Regions from separate parts of the Homo sapiens genome. Here region 2 is linked to region 1. The links are contacts of gene promoters, found by promoter capture Hi-C in human tissues and cell types (Jung and others, 2019). All regions are on one chromosome and are shown on one strand. Each heading gives the region's core, a stretch centred on a gene start or on the middle of the fragment in contact. The rest is flanking DNA. Distances are from core to core; before and after follow the strand shown.

Region 1 (4,456 bases), core at 1,096-3,595:
TCACCACTATCTGTAGAAAAGAGGCAGTGTTTATATGTGATTGCTCCCTATCCAGTTTATGTATTGCAGCTTATTTCATTTAATATACTCTGTTAAAGGTACATTATTAGTCGCTTCTTTCAGTTAGTATAGCCCTGCAGGTTTCTGCATCTCTCTAACATTAGCATTTTGTTGTCTTTGTTCACTTGCCTCTGGGTTCTGGATGGTATGGGGAGAAAAATCTACCTTCTTTCCTTTTGATGGGACAAATAACTTTTTGATTATGATTTGTTAAAGAAACCTGGATGCCAGGACATTGCCTCCTTATTTTATTGAAGAGTTCCAGGATGTTATTAACACATGGATTTAGAATATTCTTGTTTTGCTGCCATTAGCAAATGCCATTTTTTCCTGTTACAACTTTTAAAAAACATCTGCTTCCCATACCTTAAGTGTTCAGTTTTTATGATAATATTATATTAAATTTTCTAAAGAACTGAGATAATTGTGGGGGTAGGGGACAGATAAAATTGAAATATTCTAAAATTTCCCTTACTATGCTTTTCTTTTTAACCTTGATATATGCCAGATTTTTGGTTTATTATTTTAATATGTTATTTTTGATGCCAACAGATATGAATGATTTTCCAATCAAGGTTTTTCACTCCGATGTGTCCCAGGTAGGATCTGGCATATGAATCATATGTCTAAAAAGGAAACTCATGAAAGTATGTGTGCGTGCTAGGGGGCTCATTTGTCTTTGGCAAAGACATTGCTGCTCCTGTTTCCTTAATTATTAAACAGATGGTGCCCACTGCCATTGACTAGCTGCCCAACTCATACTCCTGTGTGGTAGCACAATTCTGGACATCTGACAGAGAGAAGCTATACCTTTATAGTATATCTGCCTTCTACTAGAACAGGCTGCTTCCCATGAAGCTGTTTAAAACTTAAGTCATCTTCTCCCCCTGTCCCCATAAATTAATTTTATCTCAAGGATCTCCTTTTGGCTTTTTTTATTGCTTCATGTCTACATACAAAATACAGTGGCATATTGAATCAATTATCTAAATGCTCTAGGCTGTAAATACACTTTAACCTGGAATGTCAAGATAATTAAGACAAAATTGGATTATTAAGATTATTATTAGTGAGGGCAAATGACATCTAAGATAGCCATGTTAAAAGTGGAGTATCATATTAAAAAGACAACTAGATCCCAGGGAACATCAATAGAGTTTAAGTCCATTGAACAGATACTGAATTCTTTTTCATAATCTGCCAAAAAAAGGTTAGCTTGAAAATTTTCTTTTAGTTTCTCAAATATCACACTGCTGCAGTACACGAACCTTTACTCATTAATAACTAAGGTCCTGATTTTTTTCATATGCTTTGCTCGAAGATGTAGTATTTTGCAGCCATAGACAGTCTTCTAAGATCTCTCCTAGTGTTAACCCACCTATCCTCACCTCTCCCTTGAGATTTTTCTTTATTTTTTGATGAACTATCTGGGCTTTTAAACTTTGTTAACCTTTTTTGAGGATACGGTCACTTAATCTCAATGTAATTTTACTTTCCACAGTCAAAAACTATTGTGTAATACTCATGCACTGGATTTAAATGACTGCTGCCTCTCCTTCCTTTCTTTTTATACTATTGTGGTCTAGGTAAGGCTGATTCTTCCATCATTTGAACCAACAGGCCAGGCTTGGGTTCTCATAAAGCAGACCTTCCAGCAGGAGCGACCAAAGGATGACACTGTCACCTGAAATTGGACTGCTGTTGTACCTGACTTGGGAACATCTTTGAATCAGACAGTAGAAGTGGCTGTCATTTTCAGGGACAGTAGAAAGTATGTTGGCTCTCATCTGCCAAGTAGGCAAACACAATCTTTTTTTTTTTTTTTTCCTTCCAACGTTCTAGGGAGCTCAGCCTCAGGGCTAGCCGCAGCCCCCCACACCCCGGGGCTGCGGTGGGCTGCGCGGTGGATCAGCCTCAGCAGCCCCTGCTCCAGCCTGTAGGGTGAACCGGCCGCTTTCCCAGCAAAGGAGCAATCGAGCTGAGGGTAGCGCCTCCTCCGCAGGAGGGGGCGGGAGCTCGGCTGAGAAAGCTTTCCTAGGGAGTTGCCTTAAAGAAAGAAAGCGGAATTGTCGATCACTCCAGTTGCCAGTTTTATACAATTTTAAGCAGTCGTCGCCACTCGTTTCCCCTTTGCAAAACTGCAAATCACCACCAACCTTGCATCAAATAGAAGTGGGGAGGGAAAAAAAAAGCAAATCTCCTTCTCCCTTCTCACCCTCCCTTTCTTCTCACCCTCCCTTCCTCTCTTACTCGCTCCTTCTCCCTCCCTCCCTTCTGCGGCTGCCGCTAGTCTCTCGGTCTGGCTCTCTCTCCGACGGGACTTAGCAACTTCTTATTTCTCAGCCCCTTGTCCATTTTTTTTTTTCCATCCTTTGCCATGAATTGGATTGACAGAGGCGGGGGAGGCTTTGCTTTCTGCCCCAGGGAATGGCGATTCGCGTCCTGGGGCCGTGCCGGGGAGAATCGGCCGAGGAGAAAGAAAGAGTGATAGAAAAAGAGCTGCAGGAAGGAGGAGAAGGGAGACCTCCATCTGCCGCGGGCCCGGCGCGCTGCAGCGCAGCGCAGCGCCGAGCTGCGCCTCGGAATGGCCCGGAGCCCGCCCTGCGCCCCCGGCTCCTCCAGCGTCAGCGGCTCCTGCGCGCGGGATGCATTGGGCAATTTTTGAAATCCTGAAGTAGGAAGAGACCCCGGAGGATATAAGTCGGGGGTGGGGGTGGAGCAGAGAATCTGTGAAAGATATTCAAAGAGAGAAAAGGGGAATCCTGATCGTTTCTGCCCGTGCTTGTTTTCAACTTGAGCGTGCTAGCCTTTAACTTGAAGAAGTCTCATTGGAGCATCTAGCATTCTCCAGGAGTTATTCGAAAGCTGAAACTTTCAGTGGATTGTGGGCCTGGGGAGAAGAAGGATTCCGAGGGTGGAATTGGGAAGAGCGTGCGTGCGTGTGTGTGTGTGTGTGTGTGCGCGCGCGCGCGTGGGTCGGGGCGGGGGCGTCGGGGGGCCACTGGGAATTCAGTGAAGAGGGCACCCTATACCATGGCAGTGCCCGGCGACGCTGCACGAGTCAGGGACAAGCCCGTCCACAGTGGGGTGAGTCAAGCCCCCACGGCGGGCCGGGACTGCCACCATCGTGCGGACCCCGCATCGCCGCGGGACTCGGGCTGCCGTGGCTGCTGGGGAGACCTGGTGCTGCAGCCGCTCCGGAGCTCTCGGAAACTTTCCTCCGCGCTGTGCGCGGGCTCCCTGTCCTTTCTGCTGGCGCTGCTGGTGAGGCTGGTCCGCGGGGAGGTCGGCTGTGACCTGGAGCAGTGTAAGGAGGCGGCGGCGGCGGAGGAGGAGGAAGCAGCCCCGGGAGCAGAAGGGGGCGTCTTCCCGGGGCCTCGGGGAGGTGCTCCCGGGGGCGGTGCGCGGCTCAGCCCCTGGCTGCAGCCCTCGGCGCTGCTCTTCAGTCTCCTGTGTGCCTTCTTCTGGATGGGCTTGTACCTCCTGCGCGCCGGGGTGCGCCTGCCTCTGGCTGTCGCGCTGCTGGCCGCCTGCTGCGGGGGGGAAGCGCTCGTCCAGATTGGGCTGGGCGTCGGGGAGGATCACTTACTCTCACTCCCCGCCGCGGGGGTGGTGCTCAGCTGCTTGGCCGCCGCGACATGGCTGGTGCTGAGGCTGAGGCTGGGCGTCCTCATGATCGCCTTGACTAGCGCGGTCAGGACCGTGTCCCTCATTTCCTTAGAGAGGTTCAAGGTCGCCTGGAGACCTTACCTGGCGTACCTGGCCGGCGTGCTGGGGATCCTCTTGGCCAGGTACGTGGAACAAATCTTGCCGCAGTCCGCGGAGGCGGCTCCAAGGGAGCATTTGGGGTCCCAGCTGATTGCTGGGACCAAGGAAGATATCCCGGTGTTTAAGAGGAGGAGGCGGTCCAGCTCCGTCGTGTCCGCCGAGATGTCCGGCTGCAGCAGCAAGTCCCATCGGAGGACCTCCCTGCCCTGTATACCGAGGGAACAGGTAAGCACTGGCAACTCCTCTCTCGGCTCTTGGAAACTTGAAACACTTGGCAACCGGCGCAGAGTGGAGAGAATCCGAGCGCTGGGAACTAAAGGGAAGATAGCCTAGAAAACTGGTCTAACTTCAGAATTAAGAAACTAGCAGGTTTTTTTTTTGTTTTTTTTGTTTTTTTTTTTTTGTTTTTTTGCCCTCTCTTTCACACAGTAGTTTTATAACCTGAACGACTGAAACACAATTAACAAAACTAGATGGCATGTGTAGGGTCTTCCACAGCTGGGCCAACTTTTTAGATCTGCTACACCTGGTGTATGGCTTGCCTACTCTTTTCAGTACTCTTACGCTTTCCTTCCTTAGCAGAAATTTTAGAATTAAGTTTAGATTTTAGCAATGAGTGATTTTTTTA
Region 2 (4,456 bases), core at 1,271-3,770, 76 kb after region 1:
GATCCTCCGGGGCCCACAGCATGCATTTCTTGTTTCTTCCCATGGTGTGCAAGGCCTTGCCAATCTCTATAGCTTCATTTGTAACTACTTTCCTTTCTCTGAAATCTCCTTGCTGTATTCTTCTGCTTTTCCTTAGGTTAGTGCCTCCTCCTGGATGACCCTTTTGCATTTCTGGATCCATCTATTCTGCTCTGCTTTTCTCATTTCTTGTGAAATATTGAACTGCTTATTAACCTTCTTCTTCATAAAAATTTGAAAATCTGTTTCCAGATTTGTAGTTCTACACCAAAATGGAATTCAGTCATTGACACTACCTATTCCATATTAAAATGGCTTTTAAAATTATGTAATGTATTTTTTACCCCAAATTTCCAGTGTGCGACCCATATTCATGACCTGTTTTGTCTATTAGTTAGGATAGGCTAAGCTATCTTGCAGTAACAACAACCACAAATATTGTAATGGCTTACAACAAAAAAGATTTCCCTCATGTTTGTGTAGATTGAAGGGAAGACTGCTTATCATAGTTACCTCTGAAGGAAGCTCCACTTGACATGTTCTTTCACAATCACATAGGAGAGGGAGAGCACATGGTAGTCACACGCTGGTTCTCAGCACTTCTGGCTGGTAGTGATGCATACCACTTGTTCATGCATTTCACTGACCTCGCATGGCCTCACCAAATGTCAAGGAGACAGGGAAGCACCATCCTACCACGTGGCTGAAAGTGGGAGACGCACGGAAATACTTAGTTCACACCACTGCAATGGGTTAAAGATCTGAAATTGTAAGACAATTCTTTTGAAATTTATGTTCACTAGTAGTTTGTAATAGTGTCGAGTCAAATGTAGCAGTTTGGAAGTGAAAACTAAAACAATCCTAAAGAGGTGAGATTGTATCTTTTAAAATCATTATCTCAGTTGAAAACTGAATATTGAAGCATATGCTTAAACTTAACACAATAAATGTAAGCATTTCATGGCCATGGCACAAAAATGTGTTAAAACTATATCGTTCATCCACTGACAGTGTTGAAGAACAAAGCAGTGTCACAGAAAATAGGTTGCATTATTCTTAGAAATATATCATGCTTTGAGGGATCCTTTTTTTTAATGGAGGTCATGATCATCTTTCATAAATAATTTATCAGTTAATGGTAGTGAACAGAGTTTGAATGAGTCAAAATTCTACAATGAAATGCTCCTGTATAGGTGTAAGTATATAAATGTTATATAAATATACATATACAAATGTAAATATATAAATGTATATATTTAATGTGTATTTGCCCCTAGTTTAATTTGTCAGCAGTAACTGCTGGTTTTTATTTCTTTTTGCAAGAAATTATATAGAAATTGATTTGAGGGAGATTTAAAATAAATGTTTAGTGAGAGGAAATCTTACTCTGTCCTATCTATGGATATTGATAAACTGTACCACTGTATTCCTAACTCCTAACTTGGATATAGGAGCTTGACTATCTGCATAGATACGTAAGGGGATATGGCTGACAGGAGGAATTACAAATGTACTTATTTAACAATTAATGCTGACATAAGCTATTTGGGTAATACCTCATTTTTTTTTAGAATGAATGATGACTGTCAGTGTGACTGAGGATACAGACATGAAATTAGGAAATCGAAAATAAATATCTGTTTCCTTCAAAAAATTTGACTAGTCATTTTTTTGACTAGCTTTTTAAAAATTGCATAAGACTAACTCTTTTCGTTTGCTGTGTGTACATTAAATATGTCTGTATAGGTCCCTTTGCTTTCTTTTGCCCCACAGTAATTATGTTGAAAATTATAAACAGAGGCATTAGCATAAATTAAGGATTAAGTATGGAAATCATAAAAAACCCTACTTCCATGAAAATGAAATTTCTTTTTGAAAAGAGAAATAGGTATTATTCTACTTATTTTCGTTTAGCAAATTTTCTTATGGAACATCATTACTCTGCCTCTCAGAAGATTTGCCAAAGTGTTTAAAACTCCCTCTGAATGTTTGTACTTCAATAACCTATTGAAAGCACAACTGATTTTGTTTGTGCTAGGTTTATCTCCATTTAAAGGCAGACTCCTTCGGTGAGCTCCCCTGTGGCAATATGAGAGAAGGAAAAGAAGGAGGGAGGACCTTGCAGGACTGGTTTATATAGCAGGAAGTTAAGAGACAAGAGAGCTCTACAATTATTGAGCACAGGAAAATTGATTTCCTATTCATAGTAGTGTGGCACATGTAGAGGAGTCTTTAAAGATGATACAGCATGCCATTCCTTTCCCCTCCGTTGTGTAATCAACCAGCCAATATTTATCAAGTACCTGTTAGTTTCACTTACAGAGTACCTGTAGCTGAGTTTTCTTTTCTTTTCTGCTTTCTTTATCCCTGCTCTCTAGCTCCTGACCTGTCCATCACGAATATCAGTTTTCCATGTGCCTTAGACCTGTCTTCCATCTAATAAGACTTCACACTGCTCACTTTTCCTTTCTGACACTGAATACACATAAACAACAGAGAGCAATGTCTCTTAAACCCATAAACCCATTCAAAAACCAAAACCAAACCAAATAAAATGAATTGGTTGTATTAATTTGTATCATCCATTTACATTTTGAGAAGCATAGTCAATCAGATAAACTTACTGTTTTAATTCTAAATTCACTGACTTTCTGTCAGTCTCTATGTTCCCTATATGTAGCAGCTGGGTTAAGAATATAATTGTCTTGACAACAAATTATTGACATTTACGAGCTCAAAAGTTACCTCAGAAGCTTTTGAAATTAAAGAAATAAAAGTGTTAATTCTCTCTGATCTGAACAAGCCAGGACTCAGTGTCAGCCCTTTATAGGTCAGGCTGTGGAAGGAATGCATAGGATGAAATACCAGTGCATGCCTGGTGCACTAAAACTAAATGGGATTTCAGCAGATGAAGGGAAAGGGTGAGGAATCAAGCCTTAAATTGTCTGCCTCAGGCATGGTAAGAAGACTTGGACAGTAATAGAAACAGGAAGTGTTTGCTGTGAAGCTTGAGTATATTCAAAGTAAATCAGTTTGTGTTCCATTAAGGAATCCTGGCTCTAGGTTGGAGCCTACGCGGGATCAGTAAATTTTGCACTAGGAAATACCTAATGTCAAGCCTTAGAAAACACCTCATACTGTGGCCAGCTGTCATCAAATCCATCGCCACTGCTAGTAAAATAACTCCAAAGCAAGTGAAACTGGCAGTAATTGCACAAGTAAACGGGTTGCAAAAGAGCAAAATGGGTACGTTTCAGAACATCATTTCTGTTAGGCTCCATGTTATACTGCTTACAGTAGAAACAAATGGAAGTCGAGAGGTGAAGCCTGGCATTAAGTTTACTAGTGATCCAGGAATAACTGTTAGCAGCTGGGCCTGGGTGCTTTTTCCCTGCTTTGTCCTGGAAAGATTTCACATCTTAAGGGAAATGAACTACACACCTTGAGAAAATTTTTTTTTCTATCATATTGTATAAATCTGTGTAAATCTCATTTTCCCCCTTTTTGGAGTTAAGTAGCATAATTAACTGTAAGGCTTTTCCAAATACTTTCTTAACCCTGAAAAACTTTCCCTCGGGACTTACAGTATAGCCAAATGGATATCGATTATTGCTAAATGTAAATACATATGCACATATGAGGTGAAGCTGTATTAAAATATGGGTGGCAGTGTCTTTAACTCAGATTTGGGATGCTTTATACAGTCATGGGAAATATCAGGGGATCAACTTGAAATTCTTTAAAAGTTAACAAAATTTTGGAACGATCAAGGAACATGGGAATATGGCCTCACCTTTTCTTTCTCACTGATGACATAAATGCCGCCCTCACTGTGTTGTTTATTGTTTCTTCCAGATAATCTTTGCATACTCAGTACTTGGAATATAGAGCCATTGCCCTGTACTCATTTTTTCCTTCCTGGAGGTATAAATAGACTGATGACGCCCTATGCTCTCTGCAGTCTGTGCATCATTCATACCGTACATCTCCTTTCTAGGTCACAAAGCTTTTAAAAAAAATCAGCAGTGGTAGCAGCATGTGAGAAGATGAGCATATGACTGACTCCTTCCTTTCACCTCAGAGCCGTGCCTTTGATAGCATCCAGACAGCAGTGCATGGAAACATGACATTTGGGTGGTTCAAGAATATCAGAGGGAAAAATAGCCATTCTTACCAAATAACTTAAAAATAGCATAGTCTGAGCATTTTTCCCTTCGCCCTTTCTCCCCCAACGTGCCTGAAATGAAGCCCTTCCCATCCAAAGCAAAACTAGGAATTTGTGTTTTGTGAGAATTTGAAGAGCCTGCCTCTCTTACTACAACTGCTTTCTTCCTTCCAAATGTATAAGCTTAAGTCGTGAGAAAATGTCATCTGTCTCATTCTGCTTCCCTCTCTAGTAAAATAAAAATGGTCATGCTTTCAGACGGTCATGTATTAT

The links. The method cuts DNA at HindIII sites, captures the fragments that hold promoters and counts their contacts. A contact is called where the count stands out against the background at its distance.
Region 2: a fragment that was not itself captured here is called in contact with the fragment with the promoter of PDE3A in region 1 in 2 of the 25 tissues and cell types used here (H1 embryonic stem cells and heart right ventricle).

What each region holds. Positions count from the first base shown.
Region 1 is chr12:20,366,192-20,370,647 of GRCh38, forward strand. PDE3A (phosphodiesterase 3A) reads left to right here and starts at 2,346. Exons shown (of 16, transcript NM_000921.5): 1 at 2,346-4,053. The coding sequence starts at 3,094. It overlaps PDE3A-AS1 (PDE3A antisense RNA 1), which reads right to left and starts at 4,065. Exons shown (of 2, transcript NR_186033.1): 1 at 3,650-4,065. RefSeq lists a silencer at 3,384-3,678. The HindIII fragment of the contact is 7,833 bases long and covers 307-4,456 here.
Region 2 is chr12:20,441,862-20,446,317 of GRCh38, forward strand. The region is part of intron 1 of PDE3A (phosphodiesterase 3A); the gene reads left to right. Among named protein-coding and RNA genes, the nearest start is that of PDE3A-AS1, 74 kb to the left of the region's middle. The HindIII fragment of the contact is 3,350 bases long and covers 846-4,195 here.